Linked DNA regions of Homo sapiens: all the other regions are linked to region 1. Evidence: promoter capture Hi-C in 16 types of primary human blood cells and fetal thymus (Javierre and others, 2016). All regions are on one chromosome and are shown on one strand. The core of a region is centred on a gene start or on the middle of the fragment in contact, and the rest is flanking DNA. Distances in the headings are between cores, read along the strand shown. Region 1 holds the start of LDHB (lactate dehydrogenase B). Region 2 overlaps C2CD5 (C2 calcium dependent domain containing 5). Region 3 overlaps C2CD5 (C2 calcium dependent domain containing 5). Region 4 overlaps C2CD5 (C2 calcium dependent domain containing 5). Region 5 has its middle 3.3 kb from the start of C2CD5. Region 6 overlaps C2CD5 (C2 calcium dependent domain containing 5). Region 7 has its middle 77 kb from the start of ST8SIA1.

Region 1 (2,788 bases), core at 154-2,653:
CTGAATGATTTATGCTAGGAGAGTTTGAGGCTTATGAATTCTTCTCAACAAACCCTTCTCTTAGTGATTCTTTACTCTGAATTTTTATTGTACTTTAACCAAATTTCTATTGCCACTTATTGTAATTGAAATAGGTTGCCTACTTGTCTGTCTCCAATGGACTAGGAACACCTCAAAGGGCATAATCTTATATTTATGTTTTTTACCAATGCTTGGCACTGAGAATAAACTGAAGCAATAATTATAGAATTAGTGGTCATATACAAGAAATATGCATTTACAAAAAAAAACACTTCACATACAGGAAGTTTGTGAGATGGCTATATTTGAAAGCATTTTAATTATAAGAAAACAGAACTGAAGCCAGACTCTTCAGAATTCCTCCAATTTATCATTCATTCATTTATTCATCAATGCTATATTTAGGTACCAAGCACTGGCTGAGTGTTGAAGACAGAATGAATGACAACATCCAGCTTTGGAGTCGATTAGGGACTAAAAAAGAAAGTGCATCTCACTTAGTGGTCCCACATTTCCCCTAGAGGGCAAAGCCTGACCTTGAGACCAGGTGGAATTGTAGGGGAACTTCAGATGGCAGGGACAAAGCCTCATTGGTCTTGTCAGGCAACGAGTAAGCAATCATTGCGTGTTTGTTGAAACAGGTTGAAAAAAATAGTCATTTTCATCAAATGAACTTTAAAACGGAGATGATCTAAATTCAGATGTATTTTTTTAAGTCCTTTAAAGTTTAACTGAAATGCAACATAGAAATTTATTTCTGGCCGGGCGCGGTGGCTCAGGCCTGTAATCCCAGCACTTTGGGAGGCCGAGGCGGGCGGATCACGAGGTCAGGAGATCGAGACCATCCTGGCTAACACGGTGAAACCCCCCTCTCTACTAAAAATACAAAAAATTAGCCGGGCGAGGTGGCGGGCGCCTGTAGTCCCAGCTACTCGGGAGGCTGAGGCAGGAGAATGTCGTGAGCCCGGGAGGCGGAGCTTGCAGTGAGCCGAGATCGCGCCACTGCACTCCAGCCTGGGCGACAGAGTGAGACTCCGTCTCAAAATAAAAAAAAGAAGGAAAGAAATTTATTTCTATTTGTACTAAATCTAATAGAACAAGAGCGTTAAAGTCCAGAAGAGTCGGGGATGGGCAAGTTTTATAAATAACTTGGCCTCCGCATTGAAGAGCCTGCGAGATGTGAGACCAGCTGAGAGCGGAAGCCTCTGGAAGGAGACCTCCTCATCTGGAGGGTGGGGGAGGGAGTGTGCATACTTGAGCCCTTGTCCTTGAAGGGGATTGAGCGAGCCGAGGGGAGGGGTAGGCGGTACTCGGATTTCCAATCACAATGGAGAAACCTAAGAGGCTGCGGTGGTTGTGGGGCCCCGCCCCCTCCTCCCTCCTTGCAGAGCCGGCGCCGGAGGAGACGCACGCAGCTGACTTTGTCTTCTCCGCACGACTGTTACAGAGGTCTCCAGAGCCTTCTCTCTCCTGGTAGGTTTCGGCTCAGGACCCTGAATCCTGGCCCACAGGCAAGCCTGATGGGACGTGCGGGGTAGTACTTGTATGGGGAGACGCGGGAAGGAGGAAGAAGCACATCTGTCCTCCGCGGCCTTTAGCTCTGAGCATCCGGCCGCGGGCCCTGACTTTGCCGCTCAGTTTGGGGCGCAGGGGGGGCCGTGCCCTGGCGGAGGAGCAGAAGGCAGAGGGTAGCAGCTGCGGCTCAGCGGAGAGACTTGTTGCATTTGCAGCTAAAACCAGGCCCTACTTGTCCTTGGTGGGTTCATGGCGGCCACATCACCCCCACGGCCTGCTGGCGGGAGTCGGGACACGTGCCCGAGTAGCTGGGGGAGGGGGACGGAACCAGGTGGCCTATGAAGGCTGGACGATCTTTACCTCGAATATTTGAATATATTGCCACGGTAATAGAGAAATGCCCTTGCACTCGCTGGGATGAGGAGAAAGGCACCTAGATGACCAGCACGTTTGGCGCTGCACTTATTTTTACCCGGCTCTGACGGTCTTTCCAGGAGCCATGCGCCAGTTCTTTCCTGCAGGGCCTCTTTTCTGGATGCTTAGGGGCTTCGTTTACTTTACCAGCCTTGGGTGCTCCGAGTAAGGAAGTCCTAGACTTGTCCCCACAGACCTTACTCGGGGAGATCTCTAGCTTCTGCATGCCCTCGTGATCTGCTGTTCTTTGCTGCCGGTGCCCTGAGGAAAAGATGGTTTGTGCGCACCGCGAGCAGTACAAGCTGCAGTAAGGGCCTGGGGAATGGGGGGAGGGGAGGAATTCAAAAGCAAAACCTGAATTTTTAAAAGATTACGGTGAGAAAGATTCTGCAAAGAAGATCTTTGTTCCTGAAATTAAGGCGCTCCTTTATTTCTAATGATTTATATCCACAGCAGTGAGGAGACATAAGGGACCAAGACTCAGAGATTTTTACCGTTTGTCGTTCTTGTTCCTTACAGCCTGCACTCTGATGTTGGCACAGGCCTGTATATCATGCAGACCATTTTCTTCTCATTTCTTAAAACTCTTTTTAAGGAAAAATTGAAGAAAAGCACTTTCTCCAGAAATATCTGAAAGAAAATCTGGTTCGAGCCTTTAAATTGTACTTCCTGAAGTTTTCTAAATTAAAAGGTCTATCAGAACAACGAATCTGTATTTATATAGCCACTGTTTCTTCATTTTCATTTTCCACTGCTTCCTGGGCCCCCTGTATACCAAAACGGTCGTAAACAGACCATCTAACAACAATAAACTTAAGTGCAGAACAACTATTCATGT
Region 2 (2,978 bases), core at 84-2,583, 850 kb before region 1:
TGTTTCTTTCTGACCAGCTCTAGTACAATGCTTGCCCTCGTTTCTTTATCCCAAACAAAGAACTTTGGGGAGAAGGGTAAAGAACCCTGAATTGAGAAGTCATTTAGGTTCATTTATTCATACTTATGTAAAATCTTATATGAAAATATTTTCTAATACATAATTTACCTATTTCTTTAGAAGGAAAAAGGAAGTACTATCTTCCATTTAGCTTACAAAAATGTTATTTTCAGTATCTCTTGTCTAGATATTTAAAAGATTTAAGGCTGGGCGCGGTGGCTCACGCCTGTAATCCCAGCACTTTGGGAGGCCGAGGCGGGTGGATCATGAGGTCAGGAGATCGAGACCATCCTGGCTAACAAGGTGAAACCCCGTCTCTACTAAAAAAATACAAAAAATTAGCCGGGCGCGGTGGCGGGCGCCTGTAGTCCCAGCTACTCGGGAGGCTGAGGCAGGAGAATGGCGTGAACCCGGGAAGCGGAGCTTGCAGTGAGCCGAGATTGCGCCACTGCAGTCCGCAGTCTGGCCTGGGCGACAGAGCGAGACTCCGTCTCAAAAAAAAAAAAAAAAGATTTAAGTATAAAGATTACATATAAAGTGATTTTTTATTCTGTGAGACCACCACATGCCTCAGATATTTTGAGGAAATATTAAAATTTAAGTGATCCTAACACTGAAAAAAAAATCTGAAAGACCTAACTACATTATTAATAATATAAGCTTACCTATACGTTTCTCATTTAAAACTCACATTTACAAAGTTCAAATGTACTTGCTCAGTGATTACCGAACTGTTTTCCCAACTTCTTTCTTAATACTTATATTGTGTAATTACCCCGTGTGTGCTGTGCCTAACAATAAATCCATTCGAATATTTTTATGACTCAAAACTTCATTTACATTCAAATTTCCTAATAATAAATATGAATTCATTATGAGGTAATCCTCTAGTTTGTACAATTTTTATTAGATTTCCAGGAACAAAACTTAGAGGACAGAAAAAGAAGTTTAAATGGAAATAAGGATGCATTTTGACTAAACATATTATAATACATTTATTATAAGTGACGTACTCTCCTTCCATCCTCTTCCTTATTTTCCCTCTACCTTTCTGCTGGGCTATACCTAACCACTTCCATAGACCAGTTTTTTACTCTTTTCTTACATAGCATAGATTTTTCTTTCTCTTGTTTAAAGATTACTTCTAAATTTGAACTGAATTTATTTCTAAATAAATTTTAGAAACTTTTTTATACTCAACCTTCATGGGTTACTGAGGTGCACAGGACTGATAGCTTTTGTGCAAAATGATTCCAAGTTGCCGTGCTTTGTGATCATGCTTTTGTGAGTTTGTATTCTCCATGCTTGAAGCAGCCAGTGAATAATTCTTGCTGCTTTTAATAAGCCTGCTTCTGGTGGTATTCTGTATCTCTTTACCAGCTTTTATTTGTTGCATTTAATCTGAGGTGGTCTTGAAAATGAGATCATGATAAATTTTAGAGTTGTTTCTTTTTAAGATAAAAATTTATAACTACTATAATATAGTATGAATATGATCTGTGGGAGTCTCCTATGAATAAAGTATATGAGCTTTAGAGCTTGAGACCGTAACAGTTCTTTTGACCGTTGAGAGCCCTGTTTTGCTTATTTTTCTCAATTATGCTCAATTATGTTCTAAATAGCTGAGGCTACTGGTAAGTGATTCCAGTTAAGTGAGCTACATTAATCTTGCAGCCAGACAGGTCAAACATCAAGTTTTCCTTACTTGCATCCAATTTGTGTAATGTGAGGGGCCTCCATGTTTTCACAGGAGCTCCGTTTTCTTATTGGGTCCTATTTCAATGAATTTCCTTTCTTGGCTTTTTCATTTGTCTTTTTTGTGTTTCTCTTTGTCTCTAAGTTGATGAATTTTATTCTTTAAGAGAGAAGGATAGAATAAAGCTTGCAAGAACTTGTGGAATTTTATTGCCTTCCTAGCTGTTATCTATGTACCTTTCAACTTTCCTTAATGTACCTTTATGCACTTGTATTTGTTCCTGCCACATTGGTGTTGATAGAGTAACCTCACACAATGATTCTCTACCCATCTCAACTTGATATTTGCCACTATCCTCTTTCTCTTAACCCACACTGCTTATCCTCTCACTTATCCTCCTTTGGTCCCACTTTCATTTAGATCCCTTGGCCCCAGGTTTTTAGAGTCTTTACCAGTGTCTTATACTGGGTGTTCATGTGAAGGGGGTGTCTAAACCACTGATAGATAAAGGGGAAGAGGGATAGGGCAGTTCCCTCATCTCATTGAGAAGTTCCATCAGAGTTGGAGATTCAGAGGAAGGAAGAGTGTGTTTCAAATATCTTAAATTGAAGGAACACTTTTTTTTTCTTCATTGAGAACTGATGAAATGGGTCTTTGGATTCTGTATAACATTGTATATATGGGGAAATGGATTTGAAACTCTAAACATTTAATTAAACTTTTAATTACAAAGCATGTGTGATGTGTAATGGGTGGCCTTTTATTTCAAGGGATGTAATACAGTTGCTATGGCAAGCTTTTTAATAAGCAAATTTTTTACACTCTACACACGATAAGTTGTATTTTTCCCTTATTCTTTCCACTAGGAATTTCCATTTTTTACCTTGACGGCATTTCCTCCTGGATTCCTTGTACACGTTGGGGGTGTAGTTAGTGCACGTTCTGTGAAGCTTTTGGATCGTATCCACAATCCTGGTATGTTCTTAAAAAGTTTCAATGTTTCCTTTATTTAAATTGTGGTTATTAAAATTGATTTTTATGATTTTTTTAAAGCCAAATCTAACTGAAAAGAGAAATGAAAAGAAAGTATAAACTAGCACGTTACTTTAATATATTTGTAGTCATCTTAATTATAAATAAACTAAGTGTATTTTAGTTACTTTTCTGTAAAAAACCAATTGATTTATTTTTGGTCACAATATCACTTTAAGGAAATCCTTAA
Region 3 (3,000 bases), core at 491-2,990, 870 kb before region 1:
AAGTTAAACATCTTTGTCATTTATTGTTCCCTGTGCCAGCAATGTTTTCCCTGCTTTTTTTGTTCTTCTTCACTGCTATGTCCTCAACGCCCAGAAGAGCGTGTAATAGACTCTCGGTAAATATTTACCACACATATTGCCCATTTCTCTGATACCACTTCCTTCACCCCTCAGCTGGAACTGAAATTTTCTTCTTTGGAATTTTCATTGGACTACTTAAGAACCTTGTGAGGACCAATTTGGTTTTTCTTCCCCTGCTATTTCATGCTGGCCCTTATATTGGGCAGCATTGTGGCTGCTGTGCCTTTTCTGAGGCCTATTTCATAACCATTATGGAGCCTGGGTAAAGTTTAGCTCTTGCAGGGTAAGGTGTCATTCTTCAGTGAAAGAGAACAAGGGAAGGAAAGTATTGATTTGCTTGAAAGATGCTTTGATCATGCTGGGGAACCTGCCAAACTGATACCTGAAGATGGAAGAAATGACACTACGATTTTTAGGCGCTGCTTTGCTTATGGTTTATATTAGGACCGTGATCTTTCTTTTAGTGTTGGAAGGCACATTCTGTAGTGGTTGGGATACTGCATAGCTGCCCTCTATTGGAAAAGCTTAAAGGTCTGGATTAAGAGAAAACAAATTCTATTTCTGGTGCCTGCTAATTTGCAGATGACCTCAGACAGCCTTACCATTTGGAGCCTCTGTTTTTTTTCAAACATGAATTCTTTCCAGAGTAGTATTGAGGTGGCTATGAAGCATGTTGCTGTATGTTAATATGAGTTGCACTAGTCAAAAAAAAGAGAATAATATATGTAAACTTTTTTTTTTTTTTGAGACGGAGTTTCACTCCCGTTGCCCAGGCTGGAGGGCAATGGTGGGATCTTGGCTCACTGCAACCTCTGCCTCTCAGGTTCAAGCGATTCTCCTGCCTCAGCCTCTTGAGTAGCTGGGAGTACAGTCATGCGCCACCACACCTGGCTAATTTTGTATTTTTAGTAGAGACAGGGTTTCTCCATGTTGGTCAAGCTGTTCTCAAACTCGCGACCTCAGGTGATCCACCCACCTTGGCCTCCCAAAGTGCTGGGATTACAGGCGTAATGCCCGGCCTGGGAATAATATTTTTAAATCACTCAGCATTTTGGATAGACATTCAGCGTTTGGCAGAAAGTGGGTTTAAATATTAGCATTTTGGGGTATATCTTCTGTTCTTTCGTTAATGTATAGTTTAATTAGTCTGAGTGGTGTAGGTGTGCTAAAAAAATAGAACTGCAGTTTGAAAAGCTTTTGTTGCTAAAATTAAATCTCAGTTTGTATAAGAAAGGTGTACCTCGTCTGTAGACTCAGCATTTATGGACAGTGACAGCTTTTATTTATTATCTCTGTGGAATATAACTGTGTTTCTCAAAATTACGACCTCATCAGAGTAGCTTGGCTGTGTCTCAGTCTTCTGTCAAAAGGACTCAGTTATAGAAACAGTTATTCTTAACCTCCCAGTAGCTTTTACCCAAAGGTTTTCAAGCAAATGGATCTCTCTAAGGAAGGTAATTTCTAGTTTCTGTAAACTCCTCCTCTTTTAAAATGGACTTCCATGTTATCTGCTAGAACATTGAACTGGAAGTCAGTAAATTGTTTAGGACTTTACCTTTGAGGCAAGTTAAAAAAAATCAGTTGGACATAGATGTAAGGATTTATTTCCGCACTCTCAACTCCATTCCATTGGTCTGTATGTCTGTCTTTATACTATTACCATACTGTTTTGATTACTATAGCTTTGTAGTGAGTTTTGCAATCAGGAAGTGAGAGTCCTACAAATTCATATTTTTAGTTGATATTTTCATGGTGAAATATTTTGATTCTCTTCTCATTTTCTTTTGTGTATATGTACAAATTTTTCTTTTAGCTGCTTCTAAAATGCCACTATCTATTTTGAAAGACCCGTTGCACATGTATTGAGTCTATTGTGGCATTTTAAACTACATTATTAAGGTAAAGGTGTGGAATATATGTGTCAAAAAATAATCAGAGTAACTTCCTTACATGATTTCAGATGGATTTAGAATTAGAGTCTATCTTCATTACCCAGGCAAAACACTGGGATGTTTATATAGTTTATTTTGATAGCCTTTCCCCCCCAACTATAACCTAGAAATGGTTAAAAACGAATAGTTTTCATTACATTGTTATTGGAATGGTGGGAGGAGGCAAGCTTCATGTGTCAGAGTAATTTTCATGATACTAGGAAATATTAAAAAATGATATTTCATTTTAATGATGATGGTAATAAACTGGTATTTTTTAAAGCTAGTGAGTACTCAAGCAGCTTACTTAACAATATGAAAAATAATATATTTATTTTCTGAAATAAGGGATTTACCAGGCAGTTCCCTTAAAATTTCTTAAGTTAGTGGCTGGGTGCAGTGGCTCACAGCTATAATCTTGGGACTTTGGGAAGCCGAGGCAGGCGAATCACCTGAGATCCAGGGTTCAAGACCAGCCTGGGCAACAGAGTGAAACCCCGTCTCTACTAAAATACAAAAATTAGCCGGGTGTGGTGGTGTGAACCTGTAATCCCAGCTATGTGGGAGGCCGAGGCCCAAGAATCGCTTGAACCTGGGAGGCAGAGGTTGCAGTGAGTCGAGATCACGCCATTGCACTCCAGCCTGGGTGACAGAGTGAGACTCCGTCTTAAAAAAAAAAAAAAATTTAGTAAGTTACTGTTTTGACTAGTCTTCCCGAATAATATATATGCTGTGAAAAATGTACTTAAAACTTTGTGTTTATAGTTAACATTGATTATGTAGTACTTTTTTTAACCCTGTTTATCAGTTGTTAATTGCATTCAGTTATATATATATATTCAGTTTTAAATATATATACACACACAGTTGTGTATATATATATACACAGTTGTATGTATACATATACACATAGTTGTATATATACAGTTATATATATACTGTATATATATACACAGTTGTATATATAGTTGTTATGTATACAGTTGTG
Region 4 (2,763 bases), core at 23-2,522, 820 kb before region 1:
GTTAAGTCTGTGGCATTGTGAACAAAGGCATAACAGAATTTAAAACTATTGTAAAATTATAAAAAGTAGTGTGGTATCTAGTGGGAATAACGTTGCACTGTGTGTCAAAAGACTGACCTAGACTGGCTCTACACTTGCTAGTTTTCCAAATTTAGGCAGACTACTAATTTACTTCTGAATTACAGCTCTTTTCCATTTTGTAGTTATTATAATGTTAACTTTATAGAGGGCAGATTAATTTGGAGTACAAATAAGATAAATTGATGTGAAAGTGCTCCATAGATCATTACATTATGAAATTGTGCAGTGGTAGTCTTTTATCTAAGGTGCATACTACCAATGAACATTTAAAACTATATATTTTTGAAAAATTTTATGTACAATTTCCTTGTTTATTAAAAAGACAATTCTGTTGCATCAGCAATAGGCTATGGCTTTTGCTTTTGCGTTCACGTATTCATATTCTTCCAGCATTCCTTGTGGCCGACAGACACTTAGAACCCCTAGTGATCTTTGGCTATGTAACAGCAAAAAGCTCACTAAGCCATACAGTATTGCACCATACACTGACCTTAAAAAGATCATTATTGTAAGTACCAATGTTTATTTAGCTTAATAAATTGAATAGCAAATATGTGCATAGTATAAGTATATATGTATTCATACTCATACATTGATCATATTTCACATTTTGCTATATGGAGCTTTGAAAGTGGATAAGAAAATATATAAAAGATTAGAATTCTTTCTAGGAACATAAGTCTTTAAATTTTTAAGGCCTATTAGGACTTTTATAATGCTGAATAGAAAATATGCACACACAGCAGTACTGGATTTCAGAGCTGTAAGGACTGCCAATTCCATACACATTGTAGTGTCCTGTGTGTACACTAGATGTCAGTTTTATCTTGTTATGTCTGTGACAGTTATATATATTTTTCTGATTCGTGTATCATTAAGGCTGCCATATCTGCTATAAAAGTTTAGTTTTAAAGGTTATACTTAAGTACGGACTTCACTGAGTATATTTTACAGGCTTTTTCTCCACAGGTAGGTGTCTACTAATATAAAGATGTAAAATTTAAACTGGAAAAGACAATCTCATATGATATAAAACAATTATATTTCTTTTAGGAGATATCTGAAGAGATTATAGGATCACCCATCCCAGAACCTAGGCAACGCTCAAGACTTCTAAGATCTCAATCAGAAAGCTCGGATGAAGTTACAGAATTAGACCTTTCACATGGGAAAAAAGATGCTTTTGTTTTGGAGGTAATGTGGCATTGGACTAATTTCTTAAAGGTTTTGGAAGCTAAGATACACATTTTTTCACGTGCTAAATTAATATGATACTTTTATATCATTACAACTGTTATAAATATTTAAAAAGTTATTATATAAAAATACAACAAACTTGAAAATAACAGAACTTGGTAACATATGTTTGTTCAATACCAGGTCACTGATACAATAATGCAGATGGTTCTGAAAAAGTTAATGTATGGGTTGAAATAATGATAGAATAGTATTAAACCTTTGAAGTTATTTTTGTAAACTTGAATGAATTTAAATGAAGTGCCATTCTTTAACTTACTATAATTATTACCTTTTTTGTATATTACTGTAGTTATAACATTTTTTAGTATAATCACTGTGAATTCTGAGTGTAGTATTTTCTTACTGAATTCAAAAGGTATAATTGATCCATCTTTATAAAAAGATACTAAGAACACTTTAGTAACTTTCCCAGAGAGTAAATGTCACATGAAAAGTTTATGGAGACTCCTTCCTCACAGATCTGCTTCCTCTGCACTCCCCTGTAGAATGGTTAGCTCCCAAAGAGATAGATTTTTCTTTTTCATATTGAAGGAAAGGAAAATAAATGATTAAGATGTAAGTTGAGAGAGAGAAAAATCAGATGCTTTGATCTTGGTGTAGCAGGAAGCTGGTGGTAGAATTGTGTTGGGATGGGATTGGAGGTTTAAAGAGTCAGGAACGGTGCCAGTGGCTGTAACAAGGATCTATGAGAGACGCACAGGCCTAACCAAGGTGAGAGTGTCAGTTTGTAGAAAACTCAACTTATATGGTTATTTGCCCCCCACTTTTTCCCCACATTTCTCTACAGTCTGAGAATGGAAAATATGTCATGGAAAATATCTCAGGTCAAGGAGGTTAAAAGTTCCAGGGTACTATTTACAGCAATGCTACTCAAAGTGTGATGTGCCTACTTGTGGCGTCAGCTCTACCTGGGAGCTTGTAAGAAATGCAAATTCTTGGGCCCCTACCTCAGACCTAGTAGATGAGAATTTCAAGGTGGAGCCCAGGAATCTGTTTAACAAACTTTCCAGGTGATGCCAAACATTACCTGAAGTTTGATCTAGGGCATTATTGATAAGTCTGATCTTGGGATCCTGGCTAAGTAGAGAGGCACATGAGAACAAAGTGCTTCAAACATGGGCAGAGGACAGAGGGCAAGTGGAATATCCAGTAAGAGAGGACAAAGAGACAGGACTGTAGTTGGAGAATGCTCGAGATCCTGGGTGTGGAACGTTTTGGGGAATAATGGGTTGAGGTATGGCTGTGACTGTGGGTAGCCACGTGAAGTGGAAGTGAAAGTGGTTCTTGAAGTCCTGAGGGTGATGTGGGAAGAAGCTTAGCGAGTCTGCAGGTTAGGACTTAGAAACTGAGGTGCAGATGAATGTCAGCGCCTGTCCAGCTGGATAGTTTCCCTATTTATTATTCACAGTGGAATATGGTGAT
Region 5 (2,726 bases), core at 69-2,568, 890 kb before region 1:
AGCCACATGGTGGCTCACACCTGCAATCCTAGCACTTTGGGAGGATGAGGCAGGCAGATCACTTGAGCCCAAGAGTTCGAGATCAGCCTGGGCAACATGGGGAGACCTCATCTCTACTAAAATATAAAAATTAGCCAGATGTGGTGGTGTGCGCCTGCAGTCCCAGCTATTCAGGAGGCTAAGGTTGGAGGATCACCTGAGCCTGGGAGGTTGAGGCTGTGGTGAACTGTGATCTTGCCACCGCACTGTAGCCTGGGTAACAGAGTGGGACCCTGGCCCAAAGGAAAAAAAAAAATCAAAGCAAAAGTAACTGAACTGAGCCCAAGTTGTCATTTGTATAATTATACTTGTAATCCCAGCCCACTTTCAAACTTAAATCAGTGAGTTTCTGGCTTGAGCAATTGACTATGTAGTTGGCATTGCTGTTTAGTAGAAGACTACCAGGTCTTTTGTTGTTGTTGTTGTCATTCTCGTTGTTGTAGTTATGGGAAAGGTAAAGAAAATCAGGTCAGTTTTGGACATCTTGACTTTTGAGGTCACTTTTGGACATCTTGACTTTTGAGGTCACTTTGATACTCCAAATGGAAATAGTAACTTGGCAGTTGCATATATGGGTCAAGATCCCAGAAGCGAGTTACAGACTAAAGATAACGATTTGAGAGTCCCTGACTAAACAGATGGAAATTAAAATTGTGAGCTTGGATGAGATCACCTAGGGAGACAGTACAGTTGGAAGAGAATAGAGACAAAAACTGAACCTGAGAAAAACACATATTTAATAGTTAAGGACAATGAGTAGGCTGAGAAGACAGATGTATAAACCAGAATAGGTAAGAGAAGCTTGGTTTCTGAATACCAAGAGGAAGATTATTTTAAGGACAGCGTGGTCAACAGCATCAAATGCTACTGAGAGTCACGTAAATAAAAAACTGAAGCCAGGCATGGTGGCACGTGCCTGTAGTCTCAGCAACTTGGGAGCCTGAGGCAGAAGGACTGCATGAACCCAAGGGTTTGAGACCAGTCTGGGCAACACAGCAAGACCCCATCTCAAAAATAAAAACTTAAAACTAAAAAAAGTGTTCATTGCATTTAGCAACCAGAGGTTATTGATGGCATTAGTGAAAGCTGTTTTTGTAGAGTGGTGGTGGCTAAACCCAGATATTAATAGTTTTTGGAGCGCTTAGGAAGTGAGGAGAGGGCACCAAGTACTGACAACCCTTGAGTAATTTAACCTGAAAGAATGGGAAAGATTAACAGGAACATTTTAGGAAGCCAGGAAAGAAGAGCAATCTAAGTAGTAATAGCAAGTGTTAACTGTTAATTTAATTCCACAATAATTTGTTGATCACATGAAGGGCACAGGACAAAGAACTGAGAATTGAGAGATGAGTGAGAAGCAATCCATTCCCTCAGAGTGCTCATGGTTTAGTGGGGGTTGGGGGGGAGAGAGATGGATAAATAATTATTGCATGGAAAGTATAATAACAAATGTATTAGATTTAGTAGTAGCATAGGTGGGAGTGAAGAGCATATTTATTAGGAAGGAGATTAGAGAAGATGTAGAAGTGACTTTTGTAAAAGGCAAAAGATTTATACACTCTAAAGAGAAACCAGAGTATTGACTTTTGAACTGAGTTATGAATTCATAGCTATTTGGTAGGATGACTATGAGAGAGATACTCCAGGAAGAAGGAAAAGTATAGTTTATTAGAAAACTACATGTAATCTTCAAAGACGTGAGTTCTTGGAATCACATTGTCTAGATTTAAAACCTGCCTCTATCATTAGAAGCTTTGTGACCTTGGGTAATCACCAGAGCTTTGAAAAGCCATAATTTTCTCATTTATAAAATGAAGGCTGATAATTCCTACCTCAGGATTTTAGGGAGCCTTAACAGCTGTGAAACGCTGAATTCAGTAGCTGGTGTGCGGCAAACCATCAATACACGTTAATTCTTGTTATTGATAATTTAAAATGCAAAAAGAGTGTCAGGGTATGAAGCTAAACAAGGTAATCAGGAGTCACATCATGGTAGATTTGTCAGAAAGTTAGCACTGTTCCCAGCATTAATGAAAACAAACGAGAACAATTATTAGGAAACAGTTCAACTGAAGTCAGGCTTAAATCTACTAAAAATAGTTTTCAGGAAGCATCTTAATTATAATCTCTTGTTGATGAAGCCTAAGGCAACAAGTACGTACAAGTACCTCAAAGTCTACTAATTAGGAGGCTGAGATTGCTAACCTCTAATTGTGCAATTTGCAACTTTTTACATTTTGGAACACAATGCATTATTTTCCATTAATATTGGTGCTAAACTTCAATTTTCTAATATTTTTTCTTTATACATTTCATATTTTAAAAAATGAGTTGGTAATACGGTAATACTTCGATTTCACCACAAAAACGACTTCAACTCTACCACCCAAAACAACAAAAAACACTGATCATGCCGGGCAAGATGGCTCATGCCTGTAATCCCACCACTTTGTGAGGTCAAGGCAGGAGGATGGCTTAAACCAGGATTGAGACCAGCCTGGGCAATACAGGGAGACTCCATCTCTTCAAAAAATTTAAAAAACTAGCGGTGCATGGTGGTATGTGCTTGTAGTCCCAGGAACTTGGGGGGCTGAGGTGGGAGGATCGCTTGGCCCAGAAGATTGAGGCTGTAGTGAGCTATGATCATGTCACTGCACTCCAGTGTGGGACACAGAGTGAGTCCCTGT
Region 6 (2,874 bases), core at 321-2,820, 800 kb before region 1:
TCATTTTTTAGTTTCACAAAGTCTTGATACCACCAGAGGGAGCTGTTGATATCGAAGTCTTCGAATGAAGAAGTTGGTGGTGAGAGTTAAGACTAGGGAGCAGCTTATGCTGATCTGTGAAGCATAATCATTATCTTGTCTGTAATTTGTAATCTTATAGACTCTTCCCCACAGCAAACATTTTCCTTCCATGTTTCATTTCAGATATTCTTCCCAACACATTGACCCTTTTCTCTGCCTAGTCTCACATCCTGCTTTCATCATACTCACATTCGTTACTATGTTTATATTTTCTTGTGACTATAAAGTTTCTGAAACTCTTTTTGTGTTACAGTAAGCAAGTAGTCTCCTTTGGCATGGTATTTATGAACTGAGCTAGTTTTCATTTATCAATAGAAACTGCATTTTAAACCTAGATGCTTTTATTTGGTTTGCTTTTGCAATGAAGCCATAAAGATTTCCTCCTATTCTTCTGGCTTATAGAGGTATTAACAAATAACAAAGAAGAGGTACTGGCTTGTACTTAGCATCTGAGCTAATGTTGTTCATATTGTCTTATTAGAACACCTGGAGAGTGCAAGTTCTAACTCAGGTATACCAGCTGCACAGAGAGGTGAGTTTGTCTAATTAAGCAAATAGTCACCAAAGGTGTAAAATTCTAGTTTGGTGGTGCATAAAATTATAGACATTGAAGAAAATGCACTGGACAATATGGAATAGACACCAAAATCTGGCTTTTTTTTTTTTGTAGGTAGAATATGTTCTTTTAAAAGCATCAATTAAACTAATATTTAAATTTTTTAGTATGTTAATGGTTTCCCAGTTTCTAAGCATAAAATTTTAGCTCCTTAAAATTTTTTTTCCAGCTTAGCAGTAGTAAAAGTTATTGTTTTTAAAAGGGGGAACTTGTGAGGCTCACACCTGCCCTGACCCCATATTATCAGAGGCTTTGTTGCCCAAAATCAGACATGGAAACAAAACATTAACAAAAATGGCCCTTTGGTTTTCCTCTTACTGATTGTAGAAAGAAGATACTTTAATAACAGATAAGTCAACTACTAACTTTTAAAAATATATTCTTCAACATTTGATTCTCTTTTTTTAAAATTTTAGGGTAAAACTAGGGAAATGAATTATTCACAAAGCTTTGATTATAAAATAAAATAGAAACAACTGAAATATTGTAAATTAAGAAGAATAGGAAATAAAGTTAGTTAAAGCACAGTATGTGGTCCTTTCATTGATATTTATGTTAGACCCCACTCAGGCTCTCCCTAGGAGACCACACAACTATGACATCACCAGAAATGCTCAGCCTGCTAACTGAGAACTTGGTTTTGGACAAATCAGTGTCTAAAGCTTGACTCTTTACTATCTCTCTTATCTGACTTGAAAAGGACCATTCTTTTTCTGAGTTACAGTTAAATTACATCATCGAAAGGAGTGTTAAGACGAGTAAGAGACATCATCCATATTTTTTTCTTTGTTTTTTTCTTTTGTTTTCTGTCTGTGTTTTCAGCAACGTCAGTTGATTACAGTTCCTTTGCAGACAGATGCAGCAGCTGGATAGAGCTCATTAAACTGAAAGCTCAGACCATAAGGCGTGGATCAATTAAGACAAGTAGGCGGATGTTTCTACCACATTATGATAATCTGAGAAACATATCCCTGATTTCCCAGTGGTGAAAGCTAGACCTTACTACCCAGTAATAACATTGCCAATCCATCATGTATTAGAGTGTGAAAGCTGCAGACTGTAACGGTCATTTAGGAAAAGCTTTTGAAAGGCCTTTAGATTTATTAGTTTTACCTATAGAATTGTGTTTTTAAAATTTTCCTTTTTGTGCAGGTATTCTTAAAAGTATATAAATAGATATTATATCATTCTAATTGGAAGTAAATTGCCAACTCTCTTATTGAAAAGACATTCTTCCAGGACCCAAGGTACTATTTAGTATGTGGCATCTGTCGGTTTATTAAGTGTGATATGCAGAGGGCTAAACTAATAAAGAATTTATGGTGAGAAAGTAGTTATTACCTTACTGCTAGAATCAGAATCATTACTTATATGTTATCTTATGCCATGTGTTTTGGTAAATTTTGAGGTAAATATATTTGAGTGAAAGAGCTTACCGTACATTAAAAGGGGGAAAAAACTACATTTCACAGGAAATAATATAGGATGTGAAACCAGCCAGATCTGGTTCTGAATCCTAGAAGTGCCATTTTAATAGCTATGAGACCTTGGGCAAGTTACTTAACTTCTCTAACCTTCCATTTCCTCATGCATGAAATGGGGATGATGATGATAACCTGTGTTTTTGGGTGGTTGTAAGGATTAGATATATATATATATGTCTGGCTTATGGCAGTTATTTAATAAGTGGTAGCTATTATTTTTTTACTTTATAAACAACCAACTTTTAGCTAGCAGAGGTCGTTAAGCTTTTAAAATTATGAGTTGGTTTTCAAAAAGGTTTGGAAAAAACCAGTATCTTACAACTAGATAACATAAGGTTTATCTACAAGTTGACAATGATGAAGTCGTCTGAAAAAGATGGAAAAATTGCACTGGGAAATAGAACAACTTTCACACTCTCCTTGTAATAATTTGTTCCTACAGCAGATAATTTTAATGCTCAGCCGCTTTTTCTTTTTCTTCACTTTATAACCAATCATTGTGTGTGTAGCTATACTGCATCAACATTTTCTTTTGCAGGAATGCCATTTTTCTTCCAAAAGAATTCCATTCCAGCATTTCCTCTCATGTTTTTCTGTCTCTCTTTTTTAATTGCATGCAGTGCATGATAATTTCTTTTCTTTCATGACATGGCTTAGCCTCACAGACAGCTGAATGTTGTCACCACTTATTTG
Region 7 (2,868 bases), core at 323-2,822, 750 kb before region 1:
CTAGGATTACAGGCGTAAGCAACCACCCCTGACCAGAATTCCTCCTTTATAAAGCCTCAAGTCAATGTCTAAAAAATTGGGGGGGCAATTCCATGATTCACCAGATAACCCATATAGATGCATACTATCTATCTAAAAATACCCATTTTTACGCCAATTAATCTTTGGGGCCTTCAGTTTGCTATACGTCTACCTGTACTGTGTTTCAGGAGGCTCTATCTTGGATACAGTGACCTTCTGCACATCAGTGAAAGGACTGAAACTAGAAGAAGCAAAATTGGGATCCATGTCTACTTTGCTTCCCATATGTTATTCTGTTACCTCAAGTATCTGACTCCATTGTAGTTAATTGCTTCCTGTTTCTTTCCCTAGGTTATGAGATCCTCCACAGAGAACTGAGTAAGAACAATGATGTACATTATTAACTAAAATTATCACATCTTGCTTTATTATTTATTTGTTTTTTTAACCATCCTAGAATAGATAATGTATTGTAGTTTGTTGCCTCGGGAAAGATTTGATTTTGGTTACGTGACACAGAGAGAAGCCGGCTTAAACTTCCCTTGGATTCTTTCTATACTTGGCTTGGTTCTAAAGAGCCACACAGCTGTGGGAATCTTGCAAGCATAATTTCAATTCTACTTTCAGGTCAGAATCAAAGAAGGATTAGAAAGGAGTCCATTTCAAACTTTATAGACCACTTCAGGAATACTTATTCTATCCTACCAGTTCTGAATGTATTAAATTTATTAAAAACTGCTAAGTTCCCTGCCTAATTTTTTGTTAATATTATAATCAAATGTGCTTAGTTATTGGTGTCTCTGCAACCACTGAAAATGCCATGCACTTATGAACAGAATATATTTTCTCATTTGAAATGGCAAAGCCCCAGAGGTTCTAATAGCCACCCTCTTCCAGATACATTATTCATTGTAAACTAGCTTTCTAGAATCCTAGATTATGGAGAACTAAGTATCTTTTATATTTTAAACCACGTGTATGCTAATGTATATAATGAGCGTTTCAAACAATCTTTTTGCTCCTGGTCAACTTTTTTTTTTTTTTTTTTTTTTTTTAAATAATAAAGGCGGCCGGGCGTGGAGGCTCACGCCTGTAATCCCAGCACTTTGGCAGGCCAAGGCGGGTGGGTCAGCTGAGGTCAGGAGTTTGAGACCAGCCTGGCCAATATGGCGAAACCCTGTCTCTACTAAAAATACAAAAATTAGCTGGGTGTGGTGGCACATGCCTGTAATCCCAGCTATTCAGGAGGCGGAGGCACGAGAATCGCTTGAACAAGGAGGTGGAGGTTGCAGTGAGCCGAGATTGCCTCACTGCACTCCAGCCAGGGTGACAGAGCGAGACTCTATCTCAAAATAGTAATAATAATAATAATAATAATAATAATATAGGCACTGAACATTTTCGAAAAAGCTTAAGAAATAAGAAAAACAAGTTAGGGAAGTTTAACTGACAAAGCATTTAACACAATTCATTATAAGATGAATGACAAACAAGTAAAATGGAACATGAATAAGAGATTTATTTAGTGCATCAACTGTTAAAATGCAAGTCTTTATGGCTTATGCTTCTGTATAGACGCTAGGCCCGAAATGGAGGTCTATTTCCCACTTAAGAGCATGAAAAACACCACTTATCAACTGCAGGGAACAGTTTTGAGATTAGATGCTAGGCATCGCACAAATGGAAGCTTTTCAAAACACAACATACAGAATTACATGTTGGGAGGGGGTTCAGGAGGTCACCCAGATCAGTCGTCTCTCTATTAAATTTGTCCCTTGTTAAAATTTTTAGGGAAGGATATTCCAAAACCGGTCTGAGGTTTAAGTGTCCAAAGACCATGAGAAATCTTAAAATTTTATCACACATTGACTATAGAGAAAAGTTTTTAAAAAGTCCACAACAAAGCAGATACAATTGTATAGAAACATCTAGATAATAGAGCTCCCCAGATCAAGCCCCCTCTATTAACCCCACCACCCCGTGTTTTCTCATTACATTTAGACTGAAATTAAAATCCTGCAAGATCCTATAGGAATTAGCCCCTGACTCCTTCTCTGACCTCAGCATCTTCCACTCTCTCCCAGTGTCCCGGTTTCCTCTGTTTCAAACACTGTACGGTAGCAATAATGTGTCTCTTGTTCATCACTGCACATCTACAAAATATCTTCACAGCAACACCTAGATTGGTATTTGGTTGGATATCCCTCATGTTTTAACTGTTTAATAAATATTTCTACAAATCTACAAAAGAGTAAAAAGTTATATATATATTTGTATGGATATATATGTGTATAATTATTTTAATAGTGGTGTTTTATCTGCTTCAAAGTTCGTTTATATGTTTTTTCCCTTTCAGCTCTATCTTGTTACCTAGTTTCTTGAAACTCCCATATGCTTGCTATTAGATTACTAGGACACTAGCAACGGATAGAAGTCATTGACAAAATAGATGAATCACTCAGTGTGGCTTGGTACTGGCATTGAAAAAATAGATTGGCACAGCAATAGATGGGAAGAATGTGTTTATTGCTGTAGGAAAATACCTGGAAATACCAGTTTCTCCAGTCAGAGAAGTCAGACTCCAAGTGAGTATTTCACCACAGTCTTTCTAGAAGCAAGGTAATACAAGTATACAGATGCAAAATGGAATGACTCAGCTAGCCAAGATTCAATTAGCGTTAAAGCATAGAAGCCGCATTTAGGGGAAACTGTGAATGATAGACAACAGCTCCAAATCAGAGCAAAATGATATGTCCTTAGACCGAAAAGTTTCTTGTCTTTTTTTTTTTTTTTTTTTTTTTGATCCAGAGTGTCGCTCTGTCGCCCAGGCTGGAGTGCAGTGGCGCG

What was found. The method cuts DNA at HindIII sites, captures the fragments that hold promoters and counts their contacts. A CHiCAGO score of 5 or more calls a contact.
Region 2: a contact is called between a fragment that was not itself captured here and the fragment with the promoter of LDHB in region 1, in 6 of 17 cell types (non-activated CD4 T cells, activated CD4 T cells, total B cells and 3 more). The highest score is 9.5, in non-activated CD4 T cells.
Region 3: a fragment that was not itself captured here is called in contact with the fragment with the promoter of LDHB in region 1 in 4 of 17 cell types (naive CD8 T cells, fetal thymus, total CD4 T cells and 1 more); the score reaches 7.0 in naive CD8 T cells.
Region 4: a fragment that was not itself captured here is called in contact with the fragment with the promoter of LDHB in region 1 in 6 of 17 cell types (total CD4 T cells, naive B cells, total CD8 T cells and 3 more); the score reaches 7.8 in total CD4 T cells.
Region 5: a contact is called between a fragment that was not itself captured here and the fragment with the promoter of LDHB in region 1, in 5 of 17 cell types (fetal thymus, naive CD8 T cells, activated CD4 T cells and 2 more). The highest score is 7.1, in fetal thymus.
Region 6: a fragment that was not itself captured here is called in contact with the fragment with the promoter of LDHB in region 1 in 7 of 17 cell types (total B cells, M1 macrophages, total CD8 T cells and 4 more); the score reaches 6.6 in total B cells.
Region 7: a fragment that was not itself captured here is called in contact with the fragment with the promoter of LDHB in region 1 in 2 of 17 cell types (activated CD4 T cells and non-activated CD4 T cells); the score reaches 7.1 in activated CD4 T cells.

Annotation. Positions count from the first base shown.
Region 1 is chr12:21,656,457-21,659,244 of GRCh38, reverse strand. LDHB (lactate dehydrogenase B) reads left to right here and starts at 1,403. Exons shown (of 8, transcript NM_002300.8): 1 at 1,403-1,494. RefSeq lists enhancers at 922-1,101, 976-1,504, 1,482-1,731, 1,762-1,851. The HindIII fragment of the contact is 8,571 bases long and covers 1-2,788 here.
Region 2 is chr12:22,506,464-22,509,441 of GRCh38, reverse strand. It overlaps C2CD5 (C2 calcium dependent domain containing 5), which reads left to right. Exons shown (of 27, transcript NM_001286176.2): 10 at 2,623-2,731. Among named protein-coding and RNA genes, the nearest start is that of C2CD5, 37 kb to the left of the region's middle. The HindIII fragment of the contact is 1,221 bases long and covers 723-1,943 here.
Region 3 is chr12:22,530,157-22,533,156 of GRCh38, reverse strand. The region is part of intron 3 of C2CD5 (C2 calcium dependent domain containing 5); the gene reads left to right. Among named protein-coding and RNA genes, the nearest start is that of C2CD5, 13 kb to the left of the region's middle. The HindIII fragment of the contact is 925 bases long and covers 1,278-2,202 here.
Region 4 is chr12:22,473,263-22,476,025 of GRCh38, reverse strand. C2CD5 (C2 calcium dependent domain containing 5) reads left to right here. Exons shown (of 27, transcript NM_001286176.2): 16 at 1,135-1,275. Among named protein-coding and RNA genes, the nearest start is that of C2CD5, 70 kb to the left of the region's middle. The HindIII fragment of the contact is 2,771 bases long and covers 1-2,657 here.
Region 5 is chr12:22,546,448-22,549,173 of GRCh38, reverse strand. No RefSeq gene overlaps it. Among named protein-coding and RNA genes, the nearest start is that of C2CD5, 3.3 kb to the right of the region's middle. The HindIII fragment of the contact is 951 bases long and covers 843-1,793 here.
Region 6 is chr12:22,457,231-22,460,104 of GRCh38, reverse strand. It overlaps C2CD5 (C2 calcium dependent domain containing 5), which reads left to right. Exons shown (of 27, transcript NM_001286176.2): 23 at 563-613; 24 at 1,520-1,621. Among named protein-coding and RNA genes, the nearest start is that of C2CD5, 86 kb to the left of the region's middle. The HindIII fragment of the contact is 418 bases long and covers 1,362-1,779 here.
Region 7 is chr12:22,410,393-22,413,260 of GRCh38, reverse strand. No RefSeq gene overlaps it. Among named protein-coding and RNA genes, the nearest start is that of ST8SIA1, 77 kb to the right of the region's middle. The HindIII fragment of the contact is 277 bases long and covers 1,434-1,710 here.